Linked DNA regions of Homo sapiens: region 1 is linked to region 2. Evidence: promoter capture Hi-C in human tissues and cell types (Jung and others, 2019). All regions are on one chromosome and are shown on one strand. The core of a region is centred on a gene start or on the middle of the fragment in contact, and the rest is flanking DNA. Distances in the headings are between cores, read along the strand shown.

Region 1 (5,546 bases), core at 1,347-3,846, 1.4 Mb before region 2:
AAACCCCCAGGCATCAGCTAGTGAGTACTTGAGACCTGCGAACAACCATCTGAGTGAACTTCAAAGTGGATTCCCCTCCAGTTGAGAATTAAGATGACTTCCAGCCACAGGTAACACCATGATCAAAGCCTTGTAAGAAACTCAAAGCAGAAAACACTCATCTAAGCCACACCTGGATTCTTGACTCACAGAATTTGTAGCTGCTGGTTTTCAGGTAATTTTTTCACAGCAATACATAATAACTTTAGTATCTTTTCAGATTCTCCATATAGAATTTCCCATCCTACTCTTATTTGATAAAATGTGGTATCTACCTCCATTAACCCACGATTATGTAAGATAATTATTTTATAATAAAGATACTGAAATATTGCCTACTTGAAACAGTAACTCATTCATTTCTTAGGCACTATTTTTTTTAACTTTCTGTTAAAGAACTCTGTGAAAACAAGTATTTGTTTCTGATTTTTGGGTCCCATTTTCTTCCTTTAAATCTACCGAATCCAGCAATCCAGGGAAGTCATTGAATTCAACTGTCAAGTAAGACGTATTTGTGTTTTCTTAAGTTGAAGTCTGATTGCTTTATTAGCAATGGGAGTTTATGATGAACATATTTTTCCATTAAAGTAAGGAAATGTGATACAAAATGTGATGGAGTGATCTCAGGTAAAGATATTAGAGTATTTTTGAATAGAATACGCCTCAGCAAATACAGTTCTTCCTTCTTTATTTTTTAAATCTATGATATTATTTGTTACTTACTTGGGATATTACTATTTATCTCAGAAAGAGATATTCCTTAGATACTTAAGCTGAACGTCTTGGTGACAGAAAACGTTGATTAGTATGATAGAAAATGAGGATTATTTTCTAACTTCAATTGTGTAGATGTAAAATCTTTTTAATGGAAGAGAATAATTATTCATTATGGTGGCAAATTTGCTCAGAGGAGAAAATATTTTATCAGCAGACAAACTGACTCATGGCATAATCCTCTAACTACAAGGTACCCCAGAGGGGAGGGTAGAGGCATATTAAATCAGAACTTGGTATCCAACTATATAATGGCTGGATATCGCCTGTCTATTATTTTTAGTTTCCTTATCCCATGGCTTTTCCTTAATCCTTTTAAATTGAAAATTATTCTTATATTAAAAAATAAAATGTTCCATAATACAGGAAGGAAAATAGATTACTGAATTAGACAATAAATGGTAGTTTTAACTACGAACTAAGTAACTCAGATTTATTGAGCAGCTACAGACAGACACAATGTATTAAGTCATTCAGTCCCACAACATTCAGAGGCTTTGAGAGGTAAAGGGCCTTGTCAATACTATACAGTTTATAAAATATAAGAGCCAGTGTTCAAATCTGGTGGATTTGGCAAAATCTAAATCTAGATTGTTTGGTAAAATCTAAATCCTATATTCTTTCCAGAATACCATATTTCATATTTTGCCTTGTATGTACTTTAAACATTTACTCTAAAAGTCTTTCAACTAATATTATCAGGGTCTTTTTAGTAAAAGAGATATGCTTTTTGCTCTAAAACTGTTTTTGCTAAGGGATAGAAGTGTGGAGTTTGCTAAGCTCTAAAATAAAATAGTAGCATTACCAAATTATCTGAGTTTTTCCAAAATATTTTACCAGATATTTAAAACAGCCGTATAATTAGACTAGAGACTTCTCAGGTCATGAAAGAATTTTTTTCTGGATAACTATAGTCCTTAATTGAATAATATGATAAATGAAAATTGATACGCTTAATTTTACATAGTTGTATTATCATCCCTACATCTTTGCCCTCCAGACACTTGGTCTCCTAAGATAGCCAGCTAATTACCAGGTCTCCTTGTGGTGCCTTATCCAGGCTAGTCTTCCTTGAACATCACCTCTTCCTCTCAACCTTTCCCATGCTCTTCCATGCAGTAGTGTTCTCTGGACAATTTCTGCAACTGCAAAATGATCTGATAAACAAATTTTTGGTTCGATATTACTATGTAACCCTTGATTAATTGAGACATGTATTACTCTCCTGAGAATATTGGCATTTGAGCAGAGAATACTGAGGATACAATGTGCAATCTAAGAATGGCTGTCTAATCAGGCAACTTGTAAGAAGTTTCTTTTTTTTTTTTCTTGCAGAAAGATCTTTTTTGCACCTGTACCACAAATCAAATAATGTAGAATGTTTAAAAGTAAAGATAAAACGATCCTTTTATATTATTTAGTTCAACCATCTTAGTGCACAAAGGGGAAAAAATGTCCAAAGTCCCACACTTAGTGGTCATTCCAGCACTTGAGTTTTGATTACAAATTCAATGTGCTTTTCCCAGTACAAAGCTTCCCTTGTATCTTGTTCCACTTATTTGTAATGCCGATCCACATGTCAATTTCTGCTAATTGCTGGTCCTTCTTTGAGACTGGTTTCCAGAGACTTTTAAAATAGGTCTGGTAGTATATGATTATAATACTTCTAGGAAAATAATTAAGTAACACCATGTAACCCTGACAATCAAGAAAATGCTACTCTAATTGATCACTACCCTCTTTCTACCAACTTTGTTCAATGTATTTTGTCATCAGTCTTCCTACATATAAAAGGGTGGATTAATGGTTCCTTATTATTTTTGGAAGTCTAATAGCCTTGCCCACTTCAGCCTCTGTGTTCCTCTGTCTCTGGCTGCTGGACCTACCTAATCCTCACCTATAGGGAGCTTAATAAAGACCCAGGGACCAGCCTTGACCCCAGGTTATAAGAAGGGAGAAATGTAATTTAAGGATGCTTATGTCAGCAGATAGATGCTGAATTATCCAGTCAATCTTGTTGTGCTTTTGCTGTCAATTTGAACCCCTTTGGCCAAGTTTTCTGCCTTAATCAAAAATCATGAGGTGATGGGTCTTCAACCTACTTGCATACAGGCAAGTGGTCCAGCATTGTGATTTTTTGCAAAATCCTGCCCAATCTTTAAATATGTGGTATAAAGTTATTTCTTGAAGGGAAAGTGACCACATTTCTCTGTGTCAACCTGAAGCAAAAAATGAATATAATAAATTTTCCCTATATCTATTCTTTAGAACTCTTATCCCACAACATGCTCTATGAGAGATATATTTCTTGTTCAAAATATTTGGGGTAATACCTGCCTTTTTCCTTTCCTACCTTTGGAGATTCCTAATATATATTGAACTCTCTAAGAAGTCTTGAAATAATAAAACATGCATAAATGTTTACCCTAATGTGTGTTCTTGTTTTGTTTGATTTATCTGAGAACACAATAATATTTTTATATAACAGTGGTGAATTGTTACTCTTGAGGAAGCAGCATTGCTGGTTTTATCTATGGGAGAATTTTCATAGTTGGTACAGGACATGAGTAGCACATACACTAGATTTGGCCCTTGGCCCTAAACCTCCCTGGGCAACCTTCCAGCACTGAGTATTCTGTCCATAGGTCTTTTTATTTCTCTGACCTCAAGATAGAAAGTCCAGTTTCATTCATATTTTTATATCTGATTTAGAAATTAAAGGGAAAAAACCCACATATTTTATACCTACTTTGTGTCCAATACTATGCTAAAGTCTTGTCATATATAATCGTTTAAAAATAAAATTTTGTTAGTAAAAAGCAAGTAACACAGGGTAAAAAGTTTTTTTTTTTCTATTAAAAATCAGATTTCAAACACTGACTCTACCAGCTGAAAACTAAAACAAGAGTAAGTCACTTTATCTTCTTGAGGTTTTGGTTTTCCAAAACCTCAAGAAGTTTTTTGTCTTAGTTTTTTTTTTTTTTTTTTTGTCTTAAATTTTTATTTTAAATTTATGTGTGTGTGTAAGAGAGATACAAAAACAATGTGGGTGCTGACAGATAGTGGGTATACCAGGCTTCCATTCATGTCAAAACTTGAGTATAAGTACTACTTGTATAAACCAAAATTTTCTAAGCTCTCAAAGAAAGTAACATAGCATTCTCTATACTTATCATTTTATAGTTGGTGTTACATAACTCAATTCACCTACAGAAGAAGTATATGCTTCATTTAAATTAGCTGAGCTTAAAATTTATGAAGAGGTAAGCAGCCTGATGATGTAATTGTGCCTTCTTTACTCCAATTCCACCTCCTGTGGTACAGACAGGTGTTCCATCTAGAGTGTTGCCATTCATGCTTAGTCAGATTCAATTCCTTTTAACCATTTTCTCAATGAAACAAAACTGTAATGACTGTTCATATATCTTAACTAGCAATATTGTTATTCCTCCTATGAATGTTGGTCATATTTTCTTTCCTTCATTTCTCTTTCTTGAATCCTCCTTTTAATCCCATTTAATCTCAGAAGTTATACACATTAATTCTTAGATCTTAATGTCTCTTCTACTTTCTCTTGTGGGCAGCTTGCAGGGTAACATAATAGCCAAGGTTTTTCACACAATGAAGAGTAAGAAATTCTAAAAATAAACTGGATATGTTTGCTAATATCAGATGTCCTGAGGATTCAATAGGAAAAATGGTTGGTGGTTCAATTATTCAATGTTTTTATCACTATAGATTTTATTTATATTGTGTGAGGTAATACAGCTTAACCATTAAGTCAAGTAAGTCTGGATTTGTGTTCCATTTTATTACCGATTGTGTGATATTGAATAACTTAGCAAGTCTCTCTAATCCTTAGTTTTTTCATGCAAAAGATGCACAAGGTTGTCATGAGAACTGAAAACACATTACTACACCCATTTTCTACATTAATTTTCCAAAATATTTATCTAAATTACTGTACATTTTTCTCATTTGAGTACTATCCACCGTTAATATTTCATCAGAATAGTTATTTTTGTTTGTTTATTCATCCTCTATACCCCGGAATCTAGGACAATGCCTAACAAATAGAAGGAACTTAGTAAAGAGCTATAAATGAATGAATAAAATATACAAATGTAGTTTTAATATACAAATTTGGGATATTATCATTAGCATGAAAATAGTTAACAATCCTCCCCAAAACCTTATTATTCCCATTTTAGTAATAAGGAAACTGAGGATCAGAGAGGTCACATGGTAAGAACTGGGAGAATAAGTACTCATTTCATCCCTTGCTTAGTTCAGAATCCAATGCATACCTACATTTTTCAACTTGGTAAATAAACATCTGTAGAGAAGGGTCTTAGTTCAGCTGCCTGAGAGGTAGAGCCTGAGATAAGTAATTTTGTACAAGCACTCCTGGAGTGTTCTCAGTGAAAACCTTTAAGGAAATAAATCAAAGTGAGATGATGCAGGCCAAGGAGCTAAGCAAAAATATGGTTTCACTGAATCTAGACAAGCGTGATCCCATGGGGAGCTCTGGAGTGTGAATGGCACCATAGAATTGTCCTGGCTTGAAGTGGCTTTGGGGCTGGAATATCTTATCCTGAATCAGTCAGTGATTGCTAGGTTTTGCCTTCTCCAGAGAGTGTTTACATTCTCATGCATCTTCTGGTGAGACAAATTCTGTAAGCCAAGGGCAATTTTCCACAGATGGGTGTAATTGTACCTATCATTACTGATAC
Region 2 (6,442 bases), core at 3,943-6,442:
TCTACATCCATCTAACTCTCTATCCTATCTTATATCAACACACCCACAACCTCTCTGAGGTTCTGCAGCAGCTCGGCTTTTCCCTAAACTACGTCCCCTGAACACATATACTTAAGCTGGGACTTCTTCCACACTGCTTCATTAATAACCATATCTCCATTGGTTTTTTAATCTTTTATACATATTTCAAAATCTCAAGCTTTGGTGGCTCCTTATCTGTTGTTTTAGGGTTACCCTTTCTTATCCTCACTTACTATCACTTTAATAGGATATTTATTATAGGGGAAAAGAGATAAATGATTGTAGTCACTGTGTCATTTTTGCCATGGTATTTCACTGTCGTCAAAAATCAGATTGTGTCCTTAGGCATTAATTGCTAACCTCTATCAGGCCCATCAATCTACACGATATTGCCAAACAGTGGTCAAAATTCTCCCTTCAACTGGTCTGAAATCAGATTTTATTCTAGCATTTTCTAAGTTATCTATGTGATTCTTTCTCTCACAAGAGCAAGTTGTATCAGGATGAAAGTTTATTACTTACACTAGAGCAAGTGAGAAAATTGAATGGAATGTGAAAACCATACCTAATTTTATGTATCTATACCAGACAGCTAAATGTATGCCATATACCAACATATGATTACACACGACTACAAAACCACTTATAGAGATTCTTACTGGAAGCTTCAGCAATGACTAAAGCTAACTTTGTTTTATTTTCTGATAAAAAGATTAAGAAATGTAAAGGAGCCTAAAAACTTCAATAAAAATGCTTCCTCTGTTCCATATAGATCACACAATTCCTATTTCACAGCACTGATATAGAAAACGTTTAAGGTTTTAAGGACTGAAAAATCAAATAAAATACTTTTTCTATATTCACACAAAACCCATTGTGTTCCATTATATCAGTTGAAGTTCTATGATATAGGCCAACTTTAAAAAGTTACAGAAACTCATATTTAAGACTCAAACAAATTTTGTGGATTATTCACGGGAAGTTCTCTTTTAAGTCCAAAGATACAGCACTTTCAATGGCAGATTCCTCCTACTACCCAAATGACATAAAGAAAACCTACAGTAATTTCAACACAAGCACATGCTTACTATAAGTGACAAAGCAAATTAATTTTAAAGAACTGCTTGGTTCATTCCCAGACTAAATAAAAGCAACTTGAATTATCCACAGCACTATTTCTCTAAGTAAACCAGTTGCCTATCCCATAATAACAAAATTCCTAATTATGGAAAGCATAGCTTTTCCCTATCCTATGAGAACAGTATGAAATCTAAAATAAAATTTCAAGTTATTAACGAAACAAAACAAACAAAAACACGCAAGATATCAAAGGAATACTGGCATGCAGCATTAGGTCTTTGGCTCAATATAAGTGAGTCTAACTTCATTATGATTTCACAGTTAATTTAAAAGACTGCAAGTACCCATTAAAACTTTAAGACCTAGGAAGCCGGGCACAGTGGTGCATGCCTGTAGTCCCAGCTACCCAGGAGACAGAGGTGAGAGGATCGCTTGAGCTGGGGAAGTCAAGGCTGCTGTGAGTCGTGATTGCACACTGTGCTCCAGCTTGGGCAAAAGTATGAGACCCCATCTCTAAACAAACAAACAAACCAAAAAAATAAAAATAAAATGAATAAACAACAACAACAAAAAACCTTCTGAAACCTATAAATTAACAGGAACACTTCAAAATAATCAATCACATCACCTTATTTTCTCCCTTCACAGAATCTAATAATAAGGATTTTAGTCTAATGTCTTAAAGTCAAAAGGGAAAAATAAATAACATTTATTAAATACCTATCACGTGTGAGACACTGATAATTACACACATAGTCTCATTTAACTGCCACAGCAATTCTATAAAATTACTAGTGCTATCCCCATTTTATTTACGGAGAAACTGAGCTACCGGATGTCATCTGAAGGTAAGGGATGCCTCTGGTTAATTCAGTCGAGTGACTTGTCCAAGACGGTAAAGTCAGGACTACAACTTAAGTGGTTTGACTATTAGTTTAGAACTGTTACAGCACAGTTGCTTCTGGAAGTTGCAGAAATCATAACCCTGATGTCACTAAGATGTTAACAAATGTTCTGAGAAATAAGTACTCTGTGGTTCAGTTTTTGGAGAAGTTACATCCGAATTTTCCAGAACTTAAATAGGCAAATTCTTCTTCAAAAAAGTAATAAAATGGGAAGTGTTCTAATTTATTAAACCATGAAACCCTCTGTTTTAACGAAAACCTAATAATATACCATGGGATGCTTGTGTTCAACTAAGCAGTCTGGAAAATGATCATCTGGTCCAATCTCCTCATTCCATGGTTTTAAAAAATGAGATGCAGGGAGGTGAAGTGACAGCAAGATACTAACAGGGTCAGGGCTGGCACCAAGGAGGCCTGATGATTCCCATCAGGATACCCTTTCCCCTAATCATCCTGTCTCACTCTTTCTACAAAGTTTAACACCAATTTTTTTTTAAGTATTACATCAATCATTTATTCTGATTTTACTGAATGACAGTAAAGAGAAACCATTTACAGACATGAAGCTCGAAAATGTTCTACCTCCCAATGCACTAGTATTTCAGAGACTTGGAATATATTTGGAGATGTGGAAAATGATTACACTTTAGTAACACTGAGTAACAATTTTAGGCCAAGTATACTACACTCATATTTTTTTTGAAGTGAGACATTAGTCCACCCTAGTACTGCATACAGACACACTGAGTAATAAATATCCAATCTGTGATCATCTTTATAAAGGGCAATTTATTCGTTGCTTTCCCCTTACCCCATTCGCCCTAGAGTGGCTTCGTTTCACTTTGCCCTACCCCTTCTAGCAGGTAGTAAACAGTCCTGGCCAGTGATGCCATCTGGCGGTTAGTTCAGAAATTGTTTAACCAACACACCTTCCAATCAGGATCTTACCATCGGGACCCTCTCCAAAACCACACTCCCCTTTCTTCCAGTTTTTGCCCATTTACCTTAGTAAAATCGGGTTTTCTTCTTTCCTGCCCTGTTTATCCAACTGAATGAAAAACGTATTTTATTTGTGGCACTCTAGTTACAGAAAAATCATGAGTCCTAAGTACATTTGCAGCTAAAGAAACAAACCAACAATAAGAGGCCAACATACTCCCAAAAATGCCCCCATTCGACATCCTGTCTTAACAGAGACTGTTAGAATCTCCGTTATTCATCCAATGCCTTCAGGGAATACCAGTGCTGAGAAGGACCTTGAGGATCATCGTTTCAAGGTCAAAAGCTTCATTTTACAGCTGAAGAAACTGGCTCTGTGAGAAAGAACTGAAGTAACCACCCACCCAACAGCACACAGCGAGTTAACGGCAGAGCCAAGATTATGGCCTAGGACTCCCCATTCCAAATCCGGTACTGGGTCAACTACTCTGTGCGCTCCTGGCTTCTCAAGCCTGTTTTTGCTCAACCAGTGTATTTACTTTTTCCATAATTATAGTAATATTGTGAATCTCTGTACTATGCCTAACAGTGTCTAGCACACTTCATAAATATTTATTATTTGGGTATCTATTAATTACCGTACTTATTGCAAATCTAGAATACTTGCAGTAGACAGGCCTTTTTTCAATCTGCTTAAAAAGCGAACTGCCACTTCATAATTTTTTCTGACTATTCCCATTAATCATCACATGGTAACCTTTTAGAACATAATCCATTCAGAAATTTGAGACTTCCTGTTCACCTGATCAGTCTTAACCAAAGATAGAAGAAAATATGTGGCATAGGGTGAAAACTGCAACCAATTTTGAAGAAAATAGAAATTCTAGTACTAGTTGCATTATAATCACACGACTTTAGGCAAACTCTTCTTTCCCACAAAATAATCCTCGACCCTAAACTCATGTAGCATAACTGCAAATCTCTCATAAATTACAAATATCTATAATGATTATCGGTATTAACAATAGTAATTTATATTTTAGGCCCTGTGACTAATCAGTTTACATATATAATGTCATGTAATACTTGCAGCCCTATTTTACGGATGAGAAAAAACAAGGCTTAGCAACTTAAACTCGTCCGGGGTCACAGAGTTAAGACGTGAAGAACTCGAGGGCCTGCTTAGAACTGAAAGCCTCCAGAGCCAGTGCTCCGAAAAGGGGAGCGATAATGCAAGGCCCACTTTGATACTACCACTCCAAGGCTCTGCAGTCAGTGGGGAGTGAAGGCAAGCGACCGACATCGCTATTTTCTGTTACGGTTAACGTACACAGTGAAACAATGGGGTACACGGAACAATGAGTCACGAAGACCTGGGTCCTTTCTCTGAGCTCGGCAACTCAGGGACCCCCCCGAAGTCGCTTAGCCTTCTGGGCTTGTTCAGCTTGGGGAGGAAAAGGGGCTGCTCCGGAACCAACGAGGCTTTGGATGGTGGATCACACTCAGGGTGTAAACTTGTGCGTACCAAGTCAAGCTTCTGGGGAAAGAACCTTCATCAGAGTCCCTCCAAAAAAAGAAGACGCGCTGGATTAGGCATCCGCAAAGTTCCGCCTGCCTCTCCGACGTCAGGGAGCTCCCGCAGTAGGAGGTTTCTTACGCCTCTAGGAAGGCCGGCGTGTGGGCGGGCTCTGCCTTCCCTTCCTCACTGAGTTGTGTGAACCGGGAACGGCGGCCGGGCCGGCTAATGGCTGCAGGCCGCCGCGGGGTGGCCGCTTGCACTCTGCCTACCCCTCGGGGAGGGCGGCTGGCAGGGCACAGGGCGCTATCTACCCCCCAGCCGGCAGCCCTGCGCCTCTGCTCTCCGCTTTGGGGTCTTGATCCGCCGCCTCCTCGCTGGCAGTTCTCGTGACTCGGTGCGCGCTCCCGCGGGAAGTAAGGTGGCCTGGACCGCGCGGCTACCGCTGAGGGCCCCAAAAAGAGAGAAGGGAGACCGCGCGGGGCGTCCCAAGTGTCCCCCATTCCATCCCCCACCCAGGTTTCTCCGGTGCGCCGCTCGGCGAACCTCCGGGAGCTACTTACTAAAGAAGAGGCGGTAATTCTGCGAGCAGGGCTGGCCGCGCTCCTCAGTGTGGTACAGGGCCATAGCACGGCGCGACCCGGTCCCTGCACTGGTCCCCAACCGCAGGCACGCAGCGGCTGGGGCACCCGTGCGCAGCAGCCGCAGCAGCGCGCTCATGGCGTCAATGACGGTCCTGCTGTGCGCGCGGAGCTACCTGGGGGCTCGGCCGGGCCGCACGCCGGTGCCCCCTACCGTCCGGAGTCATCCCTCCCGCCCCGGCGCTCGGGCTGCGATCCTGGTCCCTGCCAGTGGAATCTGGAACACCAGCCAGTTGTGCGCACTATGCCCTCAGCGAGGCCGCAGCTCAAAGACGAGTGAGACAAGACCCACCACCCCTGAAGAGCTCACTGCCACTCGTTAATTCATACATTTATTCATGCCTTCATTTATCCCGTCAAGAATTACTATCATGATTTTTTAGTATAGTGATGTAATATTGAGTGATTACTCTGTGCCAGGAACTGCTCTAGACCCTGTCCAATATAGGAGATGAGCGCACATGCACGCAAAGACATCACTATAAGACAAAATGATCAGGCCACCACGTGAAAACGGGACGTTGACACCGACTTACAGAGCAAAAAACCCTAAGTAGCTTACTCAAATGCCATCTTCTCCATAAGGCCATTTCCTAACCCAGTAGAGATTATTTATTCTTTCTTTTATTTTATTATTTTTTGTTGTTGTTTTGTTTTTGAGACGGAGTCTCACACTGTTGCCTGGGCTGGAATGCAATGGTACAATCTCGGCTCACTGCAACCTCCGCCTCCTGGGTTCAAGCTATTCTCCTGCCTTAGCCTCCTGAGTAACTGGGATTACAGGCATGCGTCACGACGCCTAGCTAATTTTTGTATTTTTAGTAGAGACAGTTTCCCCATGTTGGTCAGACTGGTCTCGAACTCCCGACCTCCATTGATCCGCCTGCGTTGGCCTCCCAAAGTCCTGGGATTACAGGCGTGAGCCACCGCGCATCGGCCAGGCGGGGTGGCACACACGCCTGTAGTTCCAGCTACTTGGGAGGCTGAGATAGGAGGATGGTTTGGGCCAGTATCCAGGAGAATGGATATTGTAGAACAACCAGTAGTCTGCCACGTGTCATTTTATTTTTTTCTAGTCCATCTTCTTTGGGACTATCATCATCTAGGCTACTTTCCTACTGGGCACCCAGGTTCTTTCAGCATCTCCAATTATCGTGTGATCATTAAAATTGAGATACTGGTCTACCCAAGTTCCAGAAAGGATTCCTAGGAGATATTGTGACTAGCTACTTAGAGACACTCTACTAAGATTATAGATCCTAAAATGTTTTTGTCAACAGTGGTACCTTTGTAATGTGTCAACTTGAATAGGCATAACTATAAGGCAAATGCTCCCATAA

What was found. The method cuts DNA at HindIII sites, captures the fragments that hold promoters and counts their contacts. A contact is called where the count stands out against the background at its distance.
Region 1: a contact is called between a fragment that was not itself captured here and the fragment with the promoter of PPA2 in region 2, in 1 of the 25 tissues and cell types used here (dorsolateral prefrontal cortex).

The regions. Positions count from the first base shown.
Region 1 is chr4:104,051,359-104,056,904 of GRCh38, forward strand. No RefSeq gene overlaps it. Among named protein-coding and RNA genes, the nearest start is that of LINC02503, 93 kb to the left of the region's middle. The HindIII fragment of the contact is 9,123 bases long and covers 1-5,546 here.
Region 2 is chr4:105,468,870-105,475,311 of GRCh38, forward strand. It overlaps PPA2 (inorganic pyrophosphatase 2), which reads right to left and starts at 5,193. Exons shown (of 12, transcript NM_176869.3): 1 at 5,025-5,193. The coding sequence starts at 5,181. RefSeq lists enhancers at 4,374-4,543, 4,834-4,953 and a silencer at 5,174-5,383. The HindIII fragment of the contact is 4,779 bases long and covers 3,886-6,442 here.